3 separate regions of the Homo sapiens genome follow, and all the other regions are linked to region 1. Evidence: promoter capture Hi-C in 16 types of primary human blood cells and fetal thymus (Javierre and others, 2016). All regions are on one chromosome and are shown on one strand. The core of a region is centred on a gene start or on the middle of the fragment in contact, and the rest is flanking DNA. Distances in the headings are between cores, read along the strand shown. Region 1 holds the start of BST2 (bone marrow stromal cell antigen 2). Region 2 holds the start of CCDC124 (coiled-coil domain containing 124). Region 3 holds the start of PIK3R2 (phosphoinositide-3-kinase regulatory subunit 2).

Region 1 (3,221 bases), core at 179-2,678:
GAGGACAGAAACAGGGGGCGGGTCAGCATGTGGCCATGCTGGGGCCCTGCTCCACTCTGGGACAGAACCTCCCCCTTACCCCAACCTCCAGCCCTGGTCTCCCTGCCCCCACCCCCTCTTCCATACCTGACTCACCCCTCCCCGGCCCTCTCCCTTCTCCCTTTCTCACCCTCAAGCTCCTCCACTTTCTTTTGTCCTTGGGCCTTCTCTGCATCCAGGGAAGCCATTAGGGCCATCTAAGAAGAGTTAGAATCTGGGGTTTTGGCCTGGGGAGTTTGGCTGCTGCCCCTGGGACCTGGGCCTCCTCCCTAGGTCCTGGGGACAGAGGGGCTTAAATGCAAACCCCTTTCAGGTTTTCTTCCAACCCTCTCTGCACCATGGTCTCCAACCTTAAAGAACAGCCACAACCACACACTCTCCCAGGGCCACCCATAAGCATGTGGGTCCTCAAAATGGGAGTTTTGAGGCCACCCCACGTGGAAACTTGGAGGCTATCGATAACCAAAGTTTAGTGGACATTTCCAGATTGCCTGAGCAATGGCCCAAGAAAAGTTAGAGGGCCCTACCAAATCCAGAATGCAGTGGGATTTCCCCGCCCAAGTGACATGCCCAGCGAGAGTTTCAAGATCCCCCATATCAGGACCCAGGTGAATATTTCAGTTTCTTAGGGATGAAGTGAAAATTTCAAAAGCCCCCTTTTTCAGGGTCTGGTGAGGTCCCCCTTCAACCCTGAATAGGGATTTCTACTCCCCCAGGACTGGTGCCCACGAGGAGTTTCAAGGCCCCCGACACCAGTGCCCTGGAAAGAATTTATAAATTCACCTAAGTCCCAGGGGGATACTGAGGTCCCCGATTTGGGGGATCTGGAGAGTTTTAACACCCTGCCCCTACACCAGTGCCCTGGACTGGGTTAGGGGCCCACAAACCCTGGTAGGGGAACCTAGGTCCCTTGATGTGGGGGCCCAGGAGCAGTTTCAGGACCTCCCCTGCATCTCCCTGGAGACCCACCCTGGGTCAGATTTCTGGGGAGAGATTCTTGTCCCTCCCACCGCCTAGTACTAGGCCATCCAAAGGAGTTGAGGAGCTTACCACAGTGTGGTTGCAGGTGGCGGCCTGGGCCTCCACATCCTGAAAGCCCTTCTGGGCCTCGGTCAGCTCTTGTTGCAGGAGATGGGTGACATTGCGACACTCCATCACTGCCCGAAGGCCGTCCCGGCAGGCCTCGCTGTTGGCCTTGATGGTGAAGATAATCAAGGGCACCCCCAGAATCACGATGATCAGGAGCACCAGAATTCCTATCCCCAGCAGAAGCTTACAGCGCTTATCCCCGTCTTCCATGGGCACTCTGCAATAGTCATACGAAGTAGATGCCATCCAGATCTCCCCTTTAGAGTCTGGCCTGGAGTTAGGGGAGGGTGCTGGAATCTTCTACGGGCCACCCCTTTATTAGCATAGGAAACGTCCTGACCAATAGCAAGTTCCAGGAAGTGCTCTGACCAGCAGCTCTTGCATGAGGCACCTACAGGCAGAGGATTAATTAGGTTTTCAGTTTCAGTTTCCCAGAAAGGAGGTGGGCTTTTTTTTCACCCTGCTTTAAAAGCCCTTGGGCCCTTCCCAGCTGGGTGCCAGCCAACTGTGGCTGCCTGGGACACTCCATCTTAAGTCCCTGTGCCTCTGCTGTGTGTTACTGAGTGCCTAGGCCGTGCCAGCCTGTATTCATCTGTACTATGACCTGAAGAGGCAGAGGCCATCACTGTTGGTCCGGTCTCCACCTGGGGAAACTGAGGTTGCACAGTTGCGTGGTGGAGTGAGGGCAGGGCCTGGGTCTGGGGGCGGGGCCTGGGTCTGACCCCAGGGACTGGTTTTTGTGTTCAGGTGTCTCTGTGGTGACGAGCAGGGCTTCATCCAGTGCCTCTGTCCCCACCGAGGGGACTATGGGAGACATGGAGGGTGTGTGAGCAACAGGTGAGACTGGAGCCAGCTGAAAACTGGGAGACCGACCCAGCCAACAAACAATGTCGGTCTCTGTCTTGGCACCTGCAGGAAACAAGCTCCTACTTCCAGAAAAAGTGCTCCTGGGACTCCAGGATACCAGGTAAACTCTCTGAGCCTGTTTCTTCATCTGCAAAGGGGAATAACAGGGCCAGCCTCAGACACTGTCCATGTGGCCAAGAGAGCCAGGGCTTCCTACAGGAAATCAGGCCCATTATCGGCACCCAACTGCTGGGCATGACCGCTGAAAGGGGACTGCATGTTTTTCTTGTGGCTTCTTCAGCCACATCCTGACCACAGCCCAGATTCTGTTAGGTCTGCCATTTCCATGTTTTTTTTTCTTTTCAGCAGGGCCAGACAGTAGGCGAGGTCAAGTCCAGAGCCCAGGCCTCCCAGAAGGCCTGGGGAACTCCCCCCAGGCCCTGACTCCAACATCCCTCAGAAGGACCCCATTAAAGCCACTTAGAGCCAGGCATGGTGGTACATGCCTGTGGTCCCAGGCTGAGGCTGGGAGGCTGAGGCAGGAGGATCACTCGAGCCCAGGAGTTTGAGGCTGCAGCGAGCTATGATTGTGCCACGGCACTCAAGCCTGGGTGATAGAGTGGGATCCCATCTCTTAAACCAATAAACAAAAAAATCACTTAGAACCAAGAACCAATTAACAAGCTGTGGGAGATGATCTTGCTGAAAATTCTGAGGGTGAACTTGTCCCAGGAGGAGGGACCTACCAGCCTGGCCAGGACTCCAGGTGCAAAGACACGACCTTTGCCTGACTTATTTGACTAAGCTGACTTATTTGAGCAGCACTGTTCTGGCCTGCTAACTTTAGGGTTAGTTTGGGACCAGGTCGGAAATCACAATTGCATGAATTGCACATTGGAGGCCAGGGTGGTGCACCTCTGGGCAAATGAATTTCCTCTCTTAGCATTGATTTCCCCAGCTGTAAAATGTGGATAATAATAGATTGATGTCCTCTCTAAATTTTGCAGCTGTAAACAGTCCCAGCCCTGCAAACCGAAAGTTTGTTGCTCTTCCCTTTAAAATTACTGTAGGGACCAGCCCCACAGGGTCAGTGGGTCTCTCCCTGTGTGCGGCGACGAGAGAGTGTAGAAATAAAGACACAAGACGAAGAGATAAAAGAAAAGACAGCTGGGCCCGGGGGACCACTACCAGCAATGCGCGGAGACTGGTAGTGGCCCCGAATGTCTGGCTGTGCTGTTATTTATTGG
Region 2 (3,086 bases), core at 332-2,831, 530 kb after region 1:
AGGTGATCTGCCTGGCTCGGCCTCCCAAAGTGCTAGGATTACAGGCGTGAGCCACCATGCCTGGCCTTTATTAGTATTTTTTAAGAGAGGTTCCTTCACCCAGGCTGGCTGGAGTGCAGTGGCGCTATCATACCTCACTGCACCCTCCAACTTCTGGGCTCAAGTGATTCTCTTGAATGGGAGGATGAGCATGCCACCACGCCCAGCTAATGTTTTTATCTTCTGTCGAGATGGGGTCTCATAATGTTGCCCAGGCTGCTTTCAAACACCTGGCCTCAAGCGATCCTCCCACCTTAGCCTTCCAAAGGGTTGGGATCACAGGCATGTGCCACTGCGACCAGCCAGGATAATAATCTTTCATGTGATTTTCCGACTTTAAGCCCCCTGCACCCAGAGACCTTTCTGTCTCATGCCTGAAGGGAAGGAACTGGCCACGGAAAAACCTGGGAAATTCCTGGGGGAACTCCCTGAGGCAAGACTGCGCCTGGCAATTTGTAAGAAGGGGGCTGGTGCGACCTGAGCAGAGAGCTAATGGGAGGGTGAGGGAAGCCAAGGGAGATGGGGTGGGAGGTGGGAGGAGTCTTGCGGGACAATGGGAACCCAGGGGAGGCGTTAGAGCAGGGGAGGTGCATCGCGCACTGGGATTTAGGTCCCAGCAAGGTCGCTGGGGGGATGCCTTTTAGGGAATGGACTCTGTGGTCAACTACTCCTACCTGAACTGCCCCCAAAGCATTTGCTTTTCCCTCTCCACAGTCAGGACCAGTGTAACCTTAGACCCCTAATACTGCCATTTTTACTGTTGAGAACACCGAGAAGTAGTAAATGCAGAAAATCTAAAGTATAGTGCCTAAGACAAATTGGCGCCTCAAACCTAATTTCTAAATAAAATTAATAAATAATATTGCAGAAGTGGGGAGCAGGTCAGCAATCCAGGAAGAGGCACTGGCAGGAGCAAGAGACGGAATTTGAGCCTACTCGCGGTTATGAGCCTACTCGCGGTTACATTTTGGCCAAACTCAATTCCTGGTCTCTCTGAGCCTCGGTTTCCCTACCTGGACTGCGCGGTGTGTGTTAATTTCTCTGCCCCATTTATCTCCCCTCTCCTAGCCCCGCCCCAGCGTCACCAGTGGGACGCAGAGACTCAGGACTAGGAAAGCACTTTTAAAGCGTTAAGGGATTGCGAAGAGCTACGGAGAGGCTTCCTCAGGGCTATACTGGGTCCACCTCCCCTCATGGACCGCGGGCGCGCTCTGGCGGCCGGGCCGCTCCAGGCTGAAGCCGCCGGACCACGTGTGTAGTCGCAGCTGCCATCTTTCATCCGGGCATCGGCCATCTTGGTAAAGGCAATGTTCTAGATTTTCGCCTCTGCCCGCCCCTCCTGGTTCATCAACATATTAAATGAGCGTAGGGAATGAGGGCGTATTAAGTGTCCTCTTTTTGAAGAGACAAAGAAGTGGCTGACTACCCTGGCTTGGGTCCGAGGCCCAGCCATCTTTTTCTTTACCAAAATGGCGGCGGTACTGAGGCGCAATGAGTGCGCGCCGCCAGGAGCTCAGCGCGCAGGCCCCATGATGACGTCACGGAGGCGCGACCGGGCCGGCGCTGGGGTAAGAAGGTAGGAGCGTCTGCGGCGCGGGCGGAACCCGGGTTCGGGGAGCAGAGGCGCGGGGCGGGGGCTGCTTGGCCTGGGACCATCCCCTGGGAAGGCTGGAGGAGGGGTGCTGGGAGGCAGGAGCACTTCTGGCGTCCAGTCTGAACCGCACCTAGTTGGGGGCGATGCCCATTTCCAGACTAGACGATTGAAGCCCGACGCGACAGCATGTTCGAGGCCACCTGGCCCCGGACTGCCCCTAGGCAGCTTCTGGTCTCGAGAGGGACAGAGTTGGGCGCGGACTCCCCCGGCCTCTTGTAGGGGGATTAGTGGTGGGGGACTTCAAAAGGGATAGCCGGGAGGGCTGCTTAGAGGAGGCATTGTTGAATTTTGTATTCTGTTATTTTACCTTCACATCCGTGGGGTCTTAATCCCCATGGGTCTTGATTCGCTTCTAAGTGTGCCCCTCGCCCAGCCTGAGCCACTCCCTGGGTACCGCCTGGGCTCCCAGCTCCTGCCATCTGGGGAGTCCACCTCCTCACTAACCCCAGAGGGCTTGTGTGACCCATAGATTGGGCTTCCCGGCTCTAACGCCCTCCACACCTTCCCATCTCCCTGGAATACAAATCGCCCCCTTTTCCAGCCTACCTCCTGCATCCCGCGTGCAGGCTGCGCTCTCCCCCACTCATTCAGACTTTTCCTTAGATGTCTCCTTTAGGAAGCCCTTTGACCCAGGCTGGGTCAGAAGCCCTCTCCGGGCTTCCCCGGCGCCCTGCGTGTCCTTATTAGGACTCTGATTGCATGTGTTGGCTCTTCTCTGGGAGTCCCATGCAGGCAGAAAGCTCATTTGTGCCACCTCTTTCCCCAGCATCGCACACGTATTAGGTGCCCAGTACATATTTATTGAATGACGTGTGCAAGTGAGTGAGTGTTTACTACACAGAGAAAAGTGTCTGTATTTCCAGCTTGGGCTGTCATAACTAATACCACAGACTGGGTGGCTTAAACAGCAGAAATTGCCAGGCACTGTGGCTCACACCTGTAATCCAGGCACTTTGAGAGGCCGAGGCAAGCGGATCACTTGAGGTCAAGAGTTTGAGACCAGCCTGGCCAACATAGTGAAACCCCGTCTCTACTAAAAATACAAAAATCAGATAGGCATGGTGGCACATGCCAACATGGTGAAACCCCATCTCTATAAAAATACAAAAATTAGCCGGGCGTGGTGGCAGGTGCCTGTAATCCTAGCTGCTTGGGAGGCTGAAACAGGAGAATTGCTTGAACCGGGTGGGTGGAGGTTGCAGTGAGCCGAGATTGTGCCACTGCATTCCAGCCTGGGTGAAAGAGCAAAACTCCGTCTCAAAACAAAAAAAAGCCCCAACGTGGAAACAGCCCAAATGTCTAGCTGTGGACAATGGATAAACAAAATGTGGCGTATCCATGCAGTGGAGGAATATTCAGCCATAAAAAGGAACGAAGGGCCAGGCGCAGTGGC
Region 3 (2,994 bases), core at 217-2,716, 750 kb after region 1:
CAACGTCTGGATTTGTGAGGGGCTGAGAAAGGAGGAAGGGAAGAGTGGGGAGGGGAGCGGAGTGAAATAGACCCATGGCTCAAAGTCATTGCAAGTGGGTTTTGAGGACTGCATAGCAGTTCGCTGTTGAGATTCTTCCTGATGCCATCGCTGGTACCAGCCTCCTGCTACCCTCTCCCTGCGAGTACTCCATCATAGCCCTGCCTTTAAAAGCTTCCTCCAGACATCTGGGCCCTGAGCTATGTTTTTTATTTTTATGTTTTTGAGACAAGGTCTCGCTCTGTAACCCAGGTTGGAGTACAGTGGCGCAATCACGGCACATTGCAGCCTCGACCTCCTGGGCGCCCTGGGCTATGTTAATAAAATAAATAAGCGGCGGGGCGCGGTGGCTCACGCCTGTAATCCCAGCACTTTGGAAGGCCAAGGCGGGCGGATCTCCTGAGGTCGGGAGTTCCAAACCACCCTGACCAACATGGAGAAACCCCGTCTCTACTAAAAATACAAAATTAGCCGGGCGTGGTGGCGCATGCCTGTAATCCCAGCTGCTCGGGAGGCTGAGGCAGGAGAATCGCTTGAACTCGGGAGGTGGAGGTTGCGGCGAGCCGAGATAGCGCCATTGCACTCCAGCCTGGGCAACAAGAGCGAAACTCCGTCTCAAAAAATAATAACAAAATAAGCAATCGTCGCGTCCTTTCTATCCTGGTCTTAGCTTGCGCTCTGCCATAAAACTCCCTCTAGCCGAACCCGGCCCAGCCCTAGAGCAATCCGTTACTTCCGGGGCGCTCAGCCGGCATGCAAACACTCTTGGCTACAGCCCCATCTCCGAGTGCGTTCGGCTATTTCCGGAAACCGTCGGCATCTAGGCTCAAGTCCGCTAAATTCTAGTGCCCGTAGGGGTCGAGATCGTTGGCTGTTTCCGGACGCTCTGGGTTGCCATGGAAACTCCTTCAACCCTGGCTTTCTCCGACTTCTGCTTTTTGCGGCAGGCCCTTTCCCCACTCTACTGCCCCCTGTTTGCTGAGCTTGAGAACGCCTCATTTGTCCCCTGGAACCATCTATGCTTCAGTAATTCCCATAAGCTGGCGGTCGCCTCTGGGTCTAAACTCCCAAGGCCTCCATTGGGCACTGAGCACATTCGGTTATTTCCAGAAACGCTCCGCGGTCTTGGGGATCAGCCTCAGTTGTGCCAGTGCGGCCGTAGAGAGTGTTCGGCCATTTCCGAAAGCGCTCGGGCGTCTCTAAGCCCAGCCGAGCCCAGTCTCGGATCCCTCGCCGACCCGATTGCACTCGGCTACCTCTGGAAACGCTCGGCTGTCTCGGGGGCACCCTCTAGTCCACCAGTCCCGCGGGATTACGTTCGGCTACTTCCGGAAACACTCGGGTGCCCCCTTACCTCAGGCTCCGCCTCGGCCTCGGTTCATCCGCCCGGCTCGAATGCGCTCGGGCATTTCCGCCGGGGGCGGGCCAGGCCGCTCGGAACCGTGGCGGCGGCGGAGGCGGGGATCCCGCGGCTGCGGCGACGGTGGCCGCGGTGGAGCCACGGGGCGGGCTTGGCTTGGTGTGACGGCGGCTGCGGCGGCGGTGGCGGCCGCGACCAGGTGAGTCCTGACTGGCCCTCGTGGCGGGGGCGGCTGGGAGTGTGCTTAAATGCGGGGCGCCCGGGGGCAGTGCCGGGCCCCGGTGGAAGCCAGAACGCAAGCGCCAGGCTGCGTCGGGCCCCGCGGGAACTGGGGGGGCCGCAGGCAAGGGGGGGCCTCGGGCTCGGCTCCGCAGCGGTGCAGCCTCCTTGGGACGGTCGGGGCAGAATGGGGAGAGACTCCCCGCGTCCAAGATACCGGACTGGAGCCGAGGCCCCAAATGAAGGGAGGCCCTGCCTGGAATGGGGCTTCGAATAGTACCGAGGGGCGCCCAGGCATTGTGCGGGGCAGAATGGGGTGCGGGAGGGCCGGGGGTCGAACCCACTTCCGGTCCCCTAGCCGGGTGGCCGGGTCCACGCAGACCCAAGTGCGCGTCTGTGTGAGCGCTCAGGCCCTGCCTTCACCCGCGGAGCCCCCAGCCCTGCCTGCCCCGCCCCTCCCGCCTCCCGGATTCGGGGAGCGCTGCTCCCGGGGCGCGCACACCGGGGCGTGGGGGCGGGCTGGCAGGCAGATCCAGGCGGTTTTCTGGGCATCCCCTCTCGGGGCCTCAGTTTCCCCACCTGTAGAATGAGGGTAACAGAGGCCTAGGAATGGGTAAATTGGGCACCCGAGAATGTGGCGCCCCTCCGCCCTGCTCGGACACCTCTTGGGGTTCCCCGTGACTGAAGGATGCTCAGAGCCTCCACCTGACACTCGGGCCTCTTGGTGGATAGCACCTATCCTTATAGCCACCCTGAATCCTTGACAAGCAACTTAACCCACTGCCAAGGCTTTGCATGTGCCGTTCCGTCTGCCTGTCGCGCCTTCCTATCCGCTGTGATGATCCATTCTCTAGAACAGCACGTCCATCCCCCGACCCTAGCCCTGTCCATCACAGGGCGTCTGAACCCGCAGGGCTAGGCTGGGAATGTGTGCCTATCTCCGCCTCCCCAGGCTGGGACTCCTGGGGAATAATCAATGCCCTGCTGCCGGCAGCCTCCCCTCCTCCTCAGCTGCAGTACCCCCACCTTCTCCTGGCTCCCTGTCCCTGCCTGGGGCTAAGGTTCCTTCTAAGCACCTCCCCATCTGCATTTTGTGCCTACTCTGGGCCCCAGGCTGGAGCTACCTGCCAGCCCACTCACTCCTCCTCTGCAGAGACTGGAGGTCCATTTGCTTGGACTCACCTCGAGGCCTTTGCTTGTGTAGAGGCCTCTTCCTGGACTTTGTTCCCTACCTCTTAGTTCAGCTGGCCTGACCCCTCTATGGAGCTCCCAAAGCACCCGGAGTGGCCTCCATTGCGTCCTCCCTGCCCTAGGTATCTGGCCACCTGGCTGCTGCCCCCTCATGTCCAACTGGGCCAAGTCGGCAGATCTAGGTG

Evidence for each region. The method cuts DNA at HindIII sites, captures the fragments that hold promoters and counts their contacts. A CHiCAGO score of 5 or more calls a contact.
Region 2: the fragment with the promoter of CCDC124 here is called in contact with the fragment with the promoter of BST2 in region 1 in 12 of 17 cell types (non-activated CD4 T cells, naive CD4 T cells, neutrophils and 9 more); the score reaches 14.5 in non-activated CD4 T cells.
Region 3: the fragment with the promoter of PIK3R2 here is called in contact with the fragment with the promoter of BST2 in region 1 in 5 of 17 cell types (naive CD8 T cells, non-activated CD4 T cells, naive B cells and 2 more); the score reaches 8.0 in naive CD8 T cells.

The regions. Positions count from the first base shown.
Region 1 is chr19:17,404,202-17,407,422 of GRCh38, forward strand. BST2 (bone marrow stromal cell antigen 2) reads right to left here and starts at 1,429. Exons shown (of 5, transcript NM_004335.4): 1 at 1,090-1,429; 2 at 170-236. The coding sequence starts at 1,374. It overlaps BISPR (BST2 interferon stimulated positive regulator), which reads left to right and starts at 1,485. Exons shown (of 4, transcript NR_130766.1): 1 at 1,485-1,570; 2 at 1,876-2,095. It also overlaps a transcript of MVB12A not described here. RefSeq lists enhancers at 608-1,346, 1,331-1,390, 1,461-1,840, 2,031-2,090, 2,141-2,190 and 2 more. The HindIII fragment of the contact is 7,369 bases long and covers 1,310-3,221 here.
Region 2 is chr19:17,931,434-17,934,519 of GRCh38, forward strand. CCDC124 (coiled-coil domain containing 124) reads left to right here and starts at 1,582. Exons shown (of 5, transcript NM_001136203.2): 1 at 1,582-1,615. RefSeq lists enhancers at 660-1,198, 1,345-1,404, 1,425-1,614 and a silencer at 1,695-1,744. The HindIII fragment of the contact is 21,651 bases long and covers 1-3,086 here.
Region 3 is chr19:18,151,697-18,154,690 of GRCh38, forward strand. It overlaps PIK3R2 (phosphoinositide-3-kinase regulatory subunit 2), which reads left to right and starts at 1,467. Exons shown (of 16, transcript NM_005027.4): 1 at 1,467-1,598. RefSeq lists enhancers at 218-297, 840-1,732, 1,038-1,317 and silencers at 1,428-1,807, 2,118-2,337. The HindIII fragment of the contact is 8,629 bases long and covers 212-2,994 here.